Linked DNA regions of Homo sapiens: region 1 is linked to region 2. The links are contacts of gene promoters, found by promoter capture Hi-C in blood cells and fetal thymus (Javierre and others, 2016). All regions are on one chromosome and are shown on one strand. Each heading gives the region's core, a stretch centred on a gene start or on the middle of the fragment in contact. The rest is flanking DNA. Distances are from core to core; before and after follow the strand shown.

Evidence for each region. The method cuts DNA at HindIII sites, captures the fragments that hold promoters and counts their contacts. A CHiCAGO score of 5 or more calls a contact.
Region 1: a fragment that was not itself captured here is called in contact with the fragment with the promoter of LRRC61 in region 2 in 8 of 17 cell types (non-activated CD4 T cells, total CD4 T cells, endothelial precursors and 5 more); the score reaches 7.9 in non-activated CD4 T cells.

The regions. Positions count from the first base shown.
Region 1 is chr7:150,876,155-150,883,109 of GRCh38, reverse strand. It overlaps LOC105375567 (a long non-coding RNA gene), which reads left to right and starts at 5,980. Exons shown (of 5, transcript XR_928171.3): 1 at 5,980-6,101. The HindIII fragment of the contact is 2,523 bases long and covers 4,206-6,728 here.
Region 2 is chr7:150,320,095-150,327,562 of GRCh38, reverse strand. It overlaps LRRC61 (leucine rich repeat containing 61), which reads right to left and starts at 4,208. Exons shown (of 3, transcript NM_001142928.2): 1 at 4,003-4,208; 2 at 1,553-1,722. It overlaps ACTR3C (actin related protein 3C), which reads left to right and starts at 4,018. Exons shown (of 8, transcript NM_001164458.2): 1 at 4,018-4,094. RefSeq lists enhancers at 3,379-3,448, 4,769-4,828, 4,879-4,988 and a silencer at 3,839-4,158. The HindIII fragment of the contact is 5,059 bases long and covers 3,651-7,468 here.

The sequences.
Region 1 (6,955 bases), core at 4,218-6,717, 550 kb before region 2:
GAAAGTGGGCATACTTGTCTTATTCCATTTATCGGGGGAATGCTTTCAACTTTTCCCCATTCAGTATGGTGTTGACTGTGGGTTTGTCATATACGGCTTTTATTACTTTGAGGTAAGTCCCTTTTATGCCTATTTTGTTAATGGTTTTTATCATAAAGCAATGCCGGATTTTATAAAATTATTTTCTGCATCTATTGAGATGATCAGATGATTTTTGTTTTTAATTCTGTTTATGTGAGAGATCACATTTATTGACTTGAGTATGCTAAACATTCCCTGCATCCTTGGGATGAAACCCATTTGATCATGGTGGATTATCTTTTTGATATGCTGTTGGATTTGGTTAGCTAGTATTTTTGTTGAGGATTTTTGCCTCTATGTTCATCAGGGATATTGGTCTGTAGTTTTCTTTTTTTGTTATGTCCTTTCCTGGTTTTGGTATTCGGGTGATACTGGCTTCATAGAATGATTTAGGGAGGATTCCCTCTTTCTGTATCTTTTGAAAAGTTTCTGTAGGATTGGTACTGATTCTTCTTTGAATGTCTGATAGAATTCAGCTGTGAATCCATCTAGTCCTGAACTTTTGTTGTTGTTGGAAATTTTTTTTATTACTGTTGAAATCTCACTACTTGTTATTGGTCCGATCAGGGTTTATATTTCTTCCTGATTTATTCTAGGAGAGTTGTATGTTCCCAGGAATTTATCTATTTCCTCTAGATTCTCTAGTTTGTGTGTGTAAAGCTATTCATAGTAGCCTTGAATGATTTTTGTATTTCTGTGGTATTGGTTGTAATATCTCCAGTTTCATTTCTAATTGAGCTTATTTGGATAGTCTCTCTTCTTTTCTTGGTTAATCTCATTTATCTGTATTTTTTTTTTTAGTTATTTTCTTAGTGGTTGCTCTAGGCCTTACCATACACATTTTAACTTATCAGAATCTGCTTCAGATTATACTAACTTAATTCCAACGAGTTATAGAAATGCTGCTTTTGTATAGCTCTATATTCTGTTCTCCTTTTGTGTCATTATTGTTATACATATTATATCTATATATGTTGCAAACCCAAAATAACATAGTTATAACTATTACTTTATGGAATTCTGTACCTTTTAAAGAAGCTGAGAGAAGAAAGGAAAGCAAGTATGTATTTATAGATTTTGTTATATTAACCTTCTTATTTATCATTTTTGGCTCTTTTTATTGTACCTGTGGATTCAAGTTACCATCAGCTGATATTTCCTTATTCCAGTGCAGCTTTGCTCCCACCTACTGGTTTTGTGCTATTATTGTAAAATAAATACATTTCTATATGTGTAGACCCAACAATACAATTTTAAACACATACACACACACACACACACACACACACACACAGAGCCCACAATTGCTTTTAAAATTAGTTAAGTAAAGAAAGAAGAAGAAATATGCATTTACACTATTGTTTTTATAATTACAAAATTATCTACATTGGTGCTCTTTAAATTTTGTTTGTGGGTTTAAGTTACTGTCTAGGCCATTTGCTTTCAGCCTAAAGAATTTATTTTGCTATTTTTTGTGAGGTGGCATGCCAGCAAGGAATTCTCTTAGTTTTTGTTTATCTAAGAATGGTTTTATTTTACTTTCATTTTTAAAAAAACAATATTGCTGGATATAAGATTCTTGCTTGACAGTTTTTTTTCTTTCAGCACTTTAAATATGTTATCTCAGTGCCTCTGGCCTCCATTATTTCTGATGAAAAGTCAATTGTTAATCTCATTGGGGTTCCCTTGTATGTGACTAGTATTTTTCTCTCGGTGATTTCAATATTTTCTTTATGTCTTTGGCTTTCAACATTTTTAAGATGATGTGTCTGGGTTAAATCTGTTTTTGTTTCTCCTAATTGAAGCTTGTTGAGCTTCTTGAACATGTGGATTAATGTTTTCCATCATATTTGGGAAGTTTTCAGGCATTATTTCTTAGATTTTTTTTTCTGTTTTCTTCTCTCTCTTCCTCCTTCAGTTACTCCCATTTTGCATATTTGGTACACTTAATAATGTCACACATTTCTCTGAGGCTCTGTTCATTTTTCTTTCTGCTTTTTTTCTCTCTGCTTTTCAAATTGCATAATCTTTATTGATCTGTATTCAAGTTTGCTGATTTTTTCTTCTTCCAGTTCAAATCCACTACTCAGCTCCTCTAGCAAATTCTTCATTTTAGTTATTATATTTCTCAACTCCAGAATTTCCATTTGGTTCTTTTAAAAAATACTTTCTGTTTTTATATTAATATTCTCTATTTGAGTGGACATTGTCATAACCTTATTCACTTCTTTAAGCATAGTTTCCTTTAGTACTTTGACCATATTTATAACAGCTGCTTTGATGTCTCTGTTAATTCCCCCATCTGGGCCCTCTCACAGAGTTTTTGTTGCCGGGTTTTTTTATTCTGTGGGTTATACTTTTCTGTTTCTTTGCATGTCTCATAATGCTTTGTTGTTAAAAGCTGATCATTTTAGATAACATATTTTAGATAATATATTGGAGCAACTCTGGATACTGATGCTGCCCTCCCCTCCACGTACTCCTTACTCCTGGCCAAGGCTTCTTGTTGTTTTTGGCTTATTTGTTTAGTGACTTTGCTTGACTATTTTGTGAAGTGTATTTCCCCATAATGTGAAGCCTCTGATTTCACTCCTCAGAGGGCACAGCCTTAGGTACATGTACAGTCAGTCATCTGGGGTGACAGAAGTTTTAACCGGCCTCTCTTTAATTTTCTCATTTCCTGATCTCTTTGCTAAGCCATCAGTCTCTGTTGGCATCACACCCAGCTGTCAGGGTACACTAATTACTGGCTGATTTTCTATTGTTTTTCTACAATGCCTGGAGTATGCAATGCTTCACAGTATGATCCAGATAAATTTGGGTCCCTTTGTAGGATTGTTTTGAGTCCAGTCTTTGGGGTTTGTTCAGACAGTGGAAGGACTCTTCTTAGCTATTTGTTTTGTTTTCTCTGGTAAACTGGCTGGCATATAGTTTATCCCATTATCTTTATTGTTTACCACCAAAATCTCCATTGTTTTTGCGAGTTCCCTTATGCTTGAACTTCTCTACATCCTGTTTTAAATCAAGTTAGTTTCTTGGGGGGTCGGGGGAGAGCTTCAGTGCTCTCTGTTCTTATGATCTACCTCTTCCTTTGGGCAAAATCTTTGAGTCACTGCTCAAGACCTGGGGGTAGGGGCTGTGGCTGGCTTCTCTCAGAGCCCTCCTGCTTTACAGAGCAGGGCTCTGCGTGGTGGCAGTAGCCTCTTGTCTTCTCAGGTTGCTGTTGTAGCATGGAACCTCTGATCCAAACGCAATTGGGGCTTCAGTAATTTCAGCCTGCATCACCTGGGGTAGTCTCCACCTATGAGTGGGGACTGGGTGGAGGAGAGAAGCTTCCATTCTCTCAGCTGCACTCATCTACAATTTAGCCTGTGCAAAATGGGGGCTGAGGAATTCTGGTGGCCTGCCTCTTCTGGGGAGCCATTGTATTGCTTGACTGGGAGCTGGATGGAGAGGGAGCTGTGTTTTCCTGGCTAAGTCCATGAAGAGTGGAGCTTCTGTTAAGTGAGTTGGGGGGATGGAGGAGAGAGGAAGTGAGTCATGGCTCAAGTGTCATAGATTCTCATTGTTCTTATTGGGAACAATTTCCAGAGACTTTAAATGCTTAAAAATCATTTAACTAGATATAAGTGTTTTGCTGGGGAGCAGGTCTGCAGAGCTCCTCATACAATCATTCTGGAAGTGGTCTCTGCTTTTTTCTCTTCCTTCTTTTTTCTTTCTTCCCTTTCTTTTTCTTTCTGTGTGTAGTTTCTGTTTTGTTTTGTTAACCTATGGATCAACAGCAGAAGATGTCAGATGTAAGAAATGATGGTAGGACGTGGGATGCTATTAGTAGGTATATCAGCTAATGTTGAAGACACTACTCTTAAATCAAGGAAAATATGATCAGAATAATAAATTTTTAAAGTATAGTGAACAAATTCTTCAGTAAGGCTGAAGGTTAAAAGTAAAAAGTTTCAAAGCAATACTTTTCTTGGCTCTTCTTTATAATAATTTATTGTCTAGTGAGCTACTAACCCTTTTTCTTTATGACTTGATTGCCCCCGTATGCTAAAATACTTGCTGTTTTACTTTTCCTTTCATTGACATTTACAATCCTTTGTCTTTTAGTAGTTTCACAAGCTTTGAAACAATGTTTAGATAATTTTAAAAAATAAAAATAAAACAATGCTAAGGGTACAATCATTGATGTTTTAAATATATCAGCTGCTATAAGGCACTTTGTCCAATTTTCATAATAATTTTGTCTTAATGGTGTTAAGAGCAAAGATTTAAGATTTACTTTCTTAGTGCCATAAAAATAAGAGCTATTCAGCTGGGTTTCTGAAATATTAAGTGCAATGCAAAAGTTTGTTTGCCTAATATCCCTGGACACCAGGCTTCCCAAAATATCCTGCCCCAGACCATAGCCACATCTTCCCACTAGATTCCTGGGCAACTAGAAACAATGGTAAAGGAAAACAAGGTCACACAATTTTTTTTGAGATGGAGTCTTGCTCTGTCACCCAGGCTGGACTGCAGTGGCGCGATGTCGGCTCACTGCAAGCTCAGCCTCCCTGATTCACACCATTCTCCTGCCTCAGCCTCATGAGTTGCTGGGACTACAGGCGCCCGCCACCACGCCCAGCTAATTTTCTTTTCTATTTTTCGTGGAGATGGGGTTTCACCATGTTAGCCAGGATGGTCTTGATCTCCGACCTCGTGATCCACCCGCCTCGGCCTCCCAAAGTGCTGGGATAACAGGCGTGAGACACTGTGCTCGGCTAAGGTCACACTAATTGTTAGCTGGGAGTGGACCCCAAACCTGTTGAAAGAACCCATCAGCTTTCCTTTAAGAAGGTAATGCCACAGACCACAACAGATAATTGAGGGTTATTCTGTGAGCTTCCACTAAAGCTAAAACATGTGTGGAAGGGACAGAAGAGAGGATAACAGGTTTGCTGGCCTGTTTACCACTTGGGGACGTTTGGATGGATGATGAAGAAGAAAAAGAATCAAAAGGACTGGGGCTCATCACAGGTGGGAATAGTATAATATTAGCTCTTCATTCAGAACCATGGTAGCAAAAAGAGAGAAAACTGCATCTGTGGACTGAATTATTCCCCTCAGCCCTCTACCCCAGTGTGTCTTCTTTTTGGGAATAGAGTAGAAAGCCAGGAAAATGGTGGGGATCTAGGAGGAAGCAGGCATCTCCTCTGACTTGCACGTCCCCCTGTTTCACTGTCCTTTGTTAACTCACTGTGTTTGACAGCCACATCTGTGGTCAGCCAGGGGTGCAGCTGCTCCTACTGGTAGCTAATGGCCATAGAACACCAGGGGCGTCTTAAAGCCCCTTCTGTGATCCGCACCACTGCTCCTGGGTATACTCCCAGGGTCTGTTATATGGGTAACATGCACCTCGCAGCAAGATCTCCTGAAATGGGTTAGGACAGGAATATTAGGTAATTGCAAACCCATACTTCCCACCATTCTTGTCTTCAATTATGGCCAATTACATAGTTACGGCAGCCTTGTATTGTTACAATACAATCTTCCTCTATGCTTAGGAACCTCTATGGAGATGGTTGTGTTACTTCAACCAAAGACAAGAAGAGACTAATCTGCAGAATTAGAACAATTCCCTAGTTCTTCAACAAATCAGTGCTGCTTTTCTTGCCAATAATAGACGTGTTTGTATTTCTCCGTGGAAACCCTTGGGGTAAACATGTTGCTTGTTCTTCCAATAAAGAATTGAACCACCAGAGGGCCTCAGGCGACTCAGGAGGTTTGGGAAGAGACAAAGGCACATGCTTAGAGGGTCTGGAGAAGGCGAGGAAGAAGGAAGGGAGCCAAGTAAAACATGTGACTGACCAGGGGCTTTGGAGAAGACAAGCCCTGCAGGAAGGCACGCATGTGGTCATTCTGTCTGTAGCCTCCCATTCCTCCCTGCTTTCCCCAGCTGCATCTACCTGGATCCTGAATTTGAACCAAGTGGTCCAAACGGCCCGGTCACCTGAGCAACCCCTCTGCAGGAACCGCAGGTGTGGGCGGGGTGGTGGGGAGGAGGCGGGGGGGTGGGGGAAAGGCGGGGGGTGGGGGGAGCTCAGCGGCGCCATCTAGCGTCCAGACAGCGGTGGCTCTGGGAAAGCTGATTGTTTTCTTAGCCAGAGGAGGAAGAGAAGGTTGGTCCTCAGCGCCTGGACGCCTGGTAGACGATAGGGGATGACATGATGAGTAAAATAAGGACAGGAACACGCCGAATCCCCTTTCATAATGATAGGACCACGCCAAATCCCCTTTCTTTTTAAAATTTGACATATACCCTTGAATATATATGTATTCTTATAAAATATGGTTATCTGGTATGTATTTATGTATATTGATATAAAGCTGCAGATTTAAAAATAGTACTTCTTTCATCTCTCTCCATCTACATAGTCTTCGTGGTTTTCAGTAAAATGATAATTTCTGGATTACTTAGATGTAGTTATTATGATCCAACCCTTGAATAAGGGGAGTTGAGAGTTGGTGAAACATCCCTGTCTCAATATTTGTTCATGCCATATTTCCTTTGAAAGAATTTACAGATAAAGGCATCAAATACCTGAAAAAGTAACAAGTTTACTATATTTTACTTGAGAATTTGTATATATATTTTTAAGAAAGCTTTTTAGTTTTGGCGTAATTATAAACTCACAAGAGGTAGCAAAAAGAGTACGGAGTTCTGTGAACCTTCAACTGGATTTCTCTAATGGTGACATCTTGCAATGGACTGAGTATGTCTCCCTCAAATTCATGTGTTGAAATCTTAATCTCCATAGTGGTAGCATTAGGAGATGGGGCCTTTGGAAGGTGATTAGGTCACAAGGGCAGTGCCCTCACAAATGAGATTAAT
Region 2 (7,468 bases), core at 2,959-5,458:
ACAGGTGTGAGTCACCACGCCCGGCCCGGTGCAAGAACTTATGTCAAAGTGGCTACAAGATTGTTTAAAAGGAGACAGATGAATGTAACCCCATGTTTACTGCTAGAAACCAAAGCTTTATGTGAAATCTTGAATTTAGGGGCAGGGAGGGAGGGTAGAAAGGCTTGTACCTTCCCTGATCCCTGCCCCTCAGTCCTGAACTGCAGGAGACCAGGGCCCCTTGGGCTTTGGTTACTCCATCTCTGGGGTGCATCTATTGGATGGCTGATTTTTCTGTACCAGGTACTTCCTTTCCCATTTTCTAATCACTTTGCAACACACATGCTGACCCTTTTCACTTCCCTTCTCCTTTCCCTGGAAAGATATAATGAATACATAAAGACTTACTGGTACTGAAACTCAAAAAAAAAAAAAGATAAAAAAGATCTGACAATGAGTGATGCTAAACATTACTCACCAGGGTAATGTTTAAAAAGGGTCACCAGAGATGGCAGGGCTGCCTATAACAGGTGACGAGATGGCTAAGAAGGCTCAAGCAAGACTCTGGCCAGAAAGAGGAGCTCCTCCCAGCCAGAAGAACCTCAGAAGGGTTAAGTGGCAACAACTTCAAGTCCATCTCGCAAGAACTTTCAGCCACCAATAAATCCAAGAACTGAAGGCCTACTGCAAGGTGGCGCTTGTGTAGGGGCTAGGTAAAGCTGCAAAGGAAACACAGGCTGCTGTCCTGGGCCCACAACTGCTCTTGGATGTCACACTGGAGGGGACTTAACTCTCACTTCATGATTGAGGAAACTGCAACCCCAGAGTGTGAACATCCAGGCCTCCAGAGGCCATCTGCAGAACGGGGTCACCCTCCAAAGTATTTTTTTTTTTTTTTTTTCAGACTGGGTCTTGCTCTGTCACCCAGGCTGGAGTACAGTGGCATGATCTACCTTGTTGCAACCTCTGCCTCCTGGGCTCAAGTAATCCTCCCAAACTCAGCCTCCCAAGTAGCTGGGACTTCAGATGTGCACCACCACACCCAGCTAATTTTTGTGTTTTCTGTAGAGACGGGATTTCACCATGTTGCCCAAGCTGGTCTTGAACTCCTGGGATCAAGCAATCCCCCTGCCTCAGCCTCCCAAAGTATTGGGATTACAGGTGTGAGCCACTGCACCCAGCACACCCCAAAATCTTCATCTTAAGACCTACCCAGTTACCCCAGGACACCAATCTTGTTCTGTTTCCCAATTAGCTTTGTCTCATCATAAATGCTATACTCTGCAGATACTCTTGATTCACTCAATCATTTAACAGAAATTCATCAAATGTCTACTATGAGCCAGCACTCTGCCTTCAAGATATGAACAGAGGAGAGTAGCTGCCTGGCTGGCACTTGGGGCTCAGGATGAGACGACAACCTAGAAATGGGCTCATCATTAGACCAGGGGGAAAGTGGGGTATGGTGCTATGAGGCGGGGAGGGATCCCTGGGGGGCCCCCGGGCTGACCTACTGAGAAACAGGGTCTATTACACTGAAGAGCTTAGACCCGTCTTGCAAGGTGTTGTTTACCTTAGGCTATTGCTTCACAATCTTCAACCCTCGCAGGCCCGTCAGGTAGATCTGGGATTTTGTGTCATCACTGGTACAACAGTGACACCACCATGTTCTCTTCCACAGAAGTACTTTAGGATGACAGTGCAGCTGGCACTGTTGAGAGCCAACCTTGAATCCAAATGAATCTAAAACGTAAATTTTAAAAAGAAAGTCATTGATAAATTTCAGTACTTTATAACTAAGAAGTTACTTGTGGCCAGGTGTGGTGGCTCACGCCTGTAATCCTAGCACTTTGGGAAGCCAAGGTGGGTGGACTGCTTTGAACTCAGGGGGTTGAGACCAGCTTGGGCAAGATGGCGAAACCTTGTCTTTACAAAAAAAATACAAAAAAATCAGCCAGCTGTGATGGCCTGTGCCTGTGGTCCCAGCTTCTTGGCAGTCTGAGGCAGGAAGATGGCTTGAGCAGGGAAGTGGAGATTGCAGTGAGCCGTGATTGCACCACTGCATTCCAGCCTGAGCAACAGAGCCAGACCCTGTCTCAAAAAAAAGAAGTTACTTGTGACACACATCACCACAGCTGACAACACATTGGAGGCCTACAACCACAACAAGACAAGATTCCAAGGGCTTCTAAGCTGAAGCACGGCCTTTTGGGCTGCACGCCTGCCCATAGTCGATCATGTGGGCAGCAGTCAGGAAAGCGCCCTAGCCAGGCCACATGGGAAGCAGGCACATCCCTGGGAGGCAAAAGGGAAAGCGGGCCAGGCCGGGGTGACGGCAGGGCGGGGTGATGGCACAATGCATGGAGGAGACTGTGGGGAGAGCTGTTCAGGAGGTGGCCCATGCCTAAGCCTCAAGTGGAAGAGGAGGAATGATGGAGAGCGCCTCCACAGTGAGCCTCTTTCCTCATACAGGTCCATGTGGGCTATTTTGGGGCAAATCTTCAGGCAAGTTTCTAGAGAAACTGAAGGAAAACACCAGAGGGGGCTGCCCAGGTAATGCTGACAATACAGGGAGGTGAGAGGATGAGCAGATCTCAAAGGTGACTGAGAGGCAGAGGGGAGAGACAAGGAAAAACCAAAGTAAAGTGAAGTTAGGGAAACCAAGAAAAGACTTTCCAAAAGCAGTGGTCAGCGGGGTCAAAGGTCCCTTCAGTGGGCGGTACAGCAGGAAGTGGGGGAGAAGCAGGAACCGGGAATGCTGGAGGTGGGGATGGGAGGGAAAAGGCTTGGCTCTGTCCCTAAACAGAGAGAAGGTGACCTGGGAAGAGCGGGGAGGCTAACTACACAGGGAAGAGAAGCTTCCTGGAGAAAGGGATCCAGGGCACAGGCGGTGGAAGGGATTGGCCTCAAGAGACCAGGAAGAACTCTCATTTTTCCTGACAGAGAAAGTAGGATGGGTCTGGTAGCAGGCAAGTCCTGGAGTGCTGTGCAGAAGGGAAGTGAGGCAGCTTATGCCTGAGAGCCAGGCATGTTGATTGCTCACGGGGAGCCGTACATCTGTAAAGGCAGCCAGCGGCTGGCTGAGTGATCTGGCTTAGCCTGGGCTGGGAAGCACCTCCGCACACTGGCTCAAGAAATTAGACCTATTCTTCTCGCTGCTCTCACCAAGCCTTTTCCCAAGTGCGTGCCCAGAAGGAAAGCGGCCACTCTTCTACTTCTCTTGTGCCTGCAAGAGAAGTAGAACCCCACCCTGGGCATTCCATGATTATGCCAGGCCTTTCTCACTCCGCCCAGTCCCTCTCCAGCCCCTCTGCTCTCAACTCCAGCACTGCAGGGGGACAGAGTGTCTACTCCACCCCCACCAGGCAGGGGATTTTAAGCACCTGCTGGGCCCTCAAGTCTCATCTTCCTCCACAACATCTGTGAGAAGATTGAAAGGTGGTGAGAGAAAGGGATAGGAGGAGATGAACGTGTGAAAGGAAAAGAGGAGAGCAAGCCATTGCATGTTTTGGGGTTTTGTCCCACACGCAAATTTGACTACTTATAAAGTCTAAGCAAGATGTTTTAAATAATAATCATGCATCATTAGGTTTCATACTGTGCAAAAAAAATGACACAAAGTGAGATCTGTTACAAACGACACGGCAGCACTCTGCTACTTTCTGGAAGCTTAGGGCTAACAATGGAGTCAGAGCATGGCATCCAGAGCCCGTCTCTGAGCACGGCCGTGATCCTGCTCCAGCACACGCCTCGGTTTCCTCGTCTACATTACGGGAATAGTAACAGCACCCGCCTCATGAGATTGTTAGTGTTAAACGAGTTAATTAATACCACAGTATTTCAGGGCAGTTCTCGGCACAGAGGGAGAGATGGGTAAGGGCTGGCTGTTCCGGAAGATTCTGGCCTCTCCCAGTGTGTTTCGGCGCGAGGGCACCGCTGGCCCAGCAGGTGGCCCCCCGGGGCCGGCACGGGCCCCGACAGCCGCCCCCTTCCCTGAACCTCGGCGGCCCAGTCCCCGCTTACCTGAGGGGTGGAGCCGGCAGCCTGCGGAGCCACTGGCCAAGCTGGGAAGTCCGGCGCAACTCCGCACCGCAGAGCCGGCGCCTCCTCGGCAGGTAAGAGCCGCAGCCCCGCCGCCCGCCGCCTGGCGGCCCCTGACCCCTGGGCCGCGTGCCCACCACCCAACTTGTTGGCCAGCGTGCTTCTCCCAGCGCCGCAGGCCTGAGCTCCCGGAACGCGCCCAGGGGGCCTGGCCAAAGGCCGTAGTGGGCGCTCTGGATTCCGGGATGCGCCAGGGGTTACTTCCGGAAGCGCAGCCTGCGGGGGTCTTCGCGCGCACCCCCCGCCTCGCAGTTGGTACGTTCCTCCTACCTGCGGTGCCTGAGTGCGCAGGCGTGGGCAGCGAGGCGGTGCGGCCGGAAGCGAAGGGGCCGTGAGGTCAACAGTCGGTAATCGTTTATCGGTGCGGCCTTAGAGAAAGGACCTCCAAGCCCTTGTTCAATACATGTTGGGTGGTGGTCACAGGTGCCAGTCTCCGGACGGATGGCGGCCTAGATTTCCTCCCGGACTCGGTGGCACCCAAGGCCCCCTGCACGCCGGCGCTGTGCGTGCCAGGCTGACCGCCCGAGTGCGACCCGGACCTCGTCCGCACGTGCAGATGGAAGGGGCCACAAAGACGATAAGGATCCAGGTCTCCCGCGTGGAAGGCTCATCTATCGGTCGGTTCAGGAAATCCACCCAGGGTGTCTCCTGGTGTTATCAGAAAGGGGTCCCGATCCAGGCCCTAAGAGAGGGTTCTTGGATCTCATGCAAGAAAGAATTCAGGGCAAGCCCATAGAGTAAAGTGAAAACAAGTTTATTAAGAAAGCAAAGAAGTAAAAGGATGGCTACTCCATAGGCAGAGCAGCTCCAGGGCTACTGGTTACCCATTTTTTGGTTATTTCTTGATTATATGCTAAACAAGGGTTGAATTATTCATGAGTTTCAGAGAAAGGGGTGGGCAGTTCCCGGAACTGAGGCTTCCTCCCCTTTTTAGACCATATAGAGTATTTCATGATGGTGTCATGGCGTCTGTAAACTGTCATGGTGCTTGCTGGTGGGAGTGTCTTTTAGCATGCTAATGCATTATAATTAGTGCATAATGAGCAGTGAGGACCACCAGAGGTCCCTCCCATTGCCATATTGGTTTTGGTGGCGTTTAGCCAGCTTCTTTACTGCAACCTGTTTTATCAGCAAGGTCTGTATGACCTGTATCTTGTGCCAACCTTCTGTCTCATCCTGTGACTTAGAATGCCTAACCTCCTATGAATGCAGCCTCATTTTACCCAGCCCTTATTCAAGATGGAGTAATTCTGGCTTAAACACCTCTGACACTGGGGCAAATGCCTGCTGCCTGATGACTCCCACAAGTCCTTAACACCTAACCCAGAGAACATCTGGGCCTGCATCCACTCTGGTGCTCTGCCACTCCTGCAGCTACAAATTGTGTGGGAGCCGAAGAAGTCATGTTCCCTGGACGAGCACAAAATGCCTGTTTGTCCCATGTTGGTTCCACATGTGCACCAAAGTGAACAACTTTTGTCTCCCTGGCTACCTTGAACTTCTTTCCACCTCCTCAGTTGGACATATTCAAGGGGCTGGCCCGGGGGCAGGCTTCCCTAGTCTTCCCAGGGGCAACCTCAGCTTTTCCCATATCTTTCAGATGACCCTTCTCCTGCCCCAAGCAAATTAATGCCAAGCCAGTCTAGTTCTCCAGCTTGGGCTACAGCTGGGACCCCTGCCCAAGAATAGTGATTTTTATCTTTACACTTTATCCAAGTTTTTTATTTTTATTTTTATTTTTTTGAGATGGAGTCTCACTCTCTTGCCCAGGCTGGAGTGCAGTGGTGTGATCTCAGCTCACTGCAACCTCCACCTCCTGAGTTCAAGCGATTCTCCTGCCTCAGTCTCCCAAGTAGCTAAGACTACAGGCGTGAACCACCACACCTGGCTAATTTTTGTATTTTTAGTAGAGACGGGGTTTCGCCATATTGGCCAGGGTGGTCTCAAACTCCTGACTTCAAGTGATCTGCCCGCCTTGGCCTCCCAAAGTGCTGGGATTGCAGGTGTGTGCCACCCTGCCCAGCCATATGCAAGTTATTTTTAATTTCAGTTGATCTCCATGCCTCGGAGATGGAAGTATTAGTTTCTCCATTATATGGATCAGAAAATTGAGACTCACACAGCATGTTACAGTAGGAAATGGCACTAAAAGAAAAATTATTCAAACAATTGTTAAGGTGAGAGACTTTATTCAAGAACAGCTGCAATAGGGATTATGCAATAGGGGCAAAAAAATCAGGCTTAACATCAAATACAAGGACAGGTGGAGATTTATAGTTAAGCAACAGGGTGGAAGTCAGCAGATGGAAAATTACTAAGAGGACACATAAAGGTTAGGGAGATTTTTGCTGAACACAAGCCGAGGTGATCAGATACCAAGGGTAGGGGATTTTTGCTGAACTGACTCAGCAGGATTCTTGCTAAAACTGAACTAAGTGAGTTAAGGACCAGCCCAGGGTCAGGGCCTAGTCAAAACGAGGACTGAGAGGAGCCTGACTCAAGTTTAGTCAAAGAGTGAGTTCTTTTCATGAGCTACCAATGATTTGAGTTGTATTGTCAGAGGTGTCCTAACTAGAGTGACACTATCCTAAATAAAGGCTGGGGAAGGCAAGACCTGCTGGGTTGCATTCCCAGGAAGTCAGCACTCTTGATCACAAGATGTTTATTGTTGAGGAAACAAGTTAATGGAAAAAGGCATTCTTGTTTTTGTTTTTGTTTTGGAGATGGAGTCTCACTCTGTTGCCCAGGCTGGAGTGCAATGCCACCATCTCGGCTCACTGCAACCTCTGCCTCCCGGGTTCAAGTGATTCTCCTGCTTCAGCCTTCGAAGTAGCTGGAATTACAGATGTGCGCCACTTTACCTGGCTAATTTTTATATTTTTAGTAGAGACGGGGTTTTGCCATATTGGCCAGCCTGGTCTCAAACTCCTGACTTCAAGTGATCCACCCACCTCAGCCTCCCGAAGTGCTGGGATTACAGGCTTGAGCCATGGCGCCTGGCCTGGAAAAAGGCATTCTTAATTTAAACTATATTTTGCTCTAAAGATAATAGTCCACTCATAAATTCTTTCTGAAATTAATTGCACAAGAGAATAACAATACAGATAGTCTGTCACAAGCCGATCACAAGCCTTTGTAATAAAATACACTATTCTTAGCTCTAATATCCTACACAAACAAGCATTACATTTGAGGTAGGGCGTTCTTCCTCTTGCTTCCTGAGGATACCCTACTCTAATAGATTAGTTTCTAATAAACCATTTAAACTTTACTGTACTTTGCGACTCACCCTAAATTCTTTCCTGTGCAAGATCCAAGAACCTGCCCTTGGGGTCTGGGGTGAAACCCCTTTTCTGGTAAGAGTACTGTTACATGGGATCCACACTAT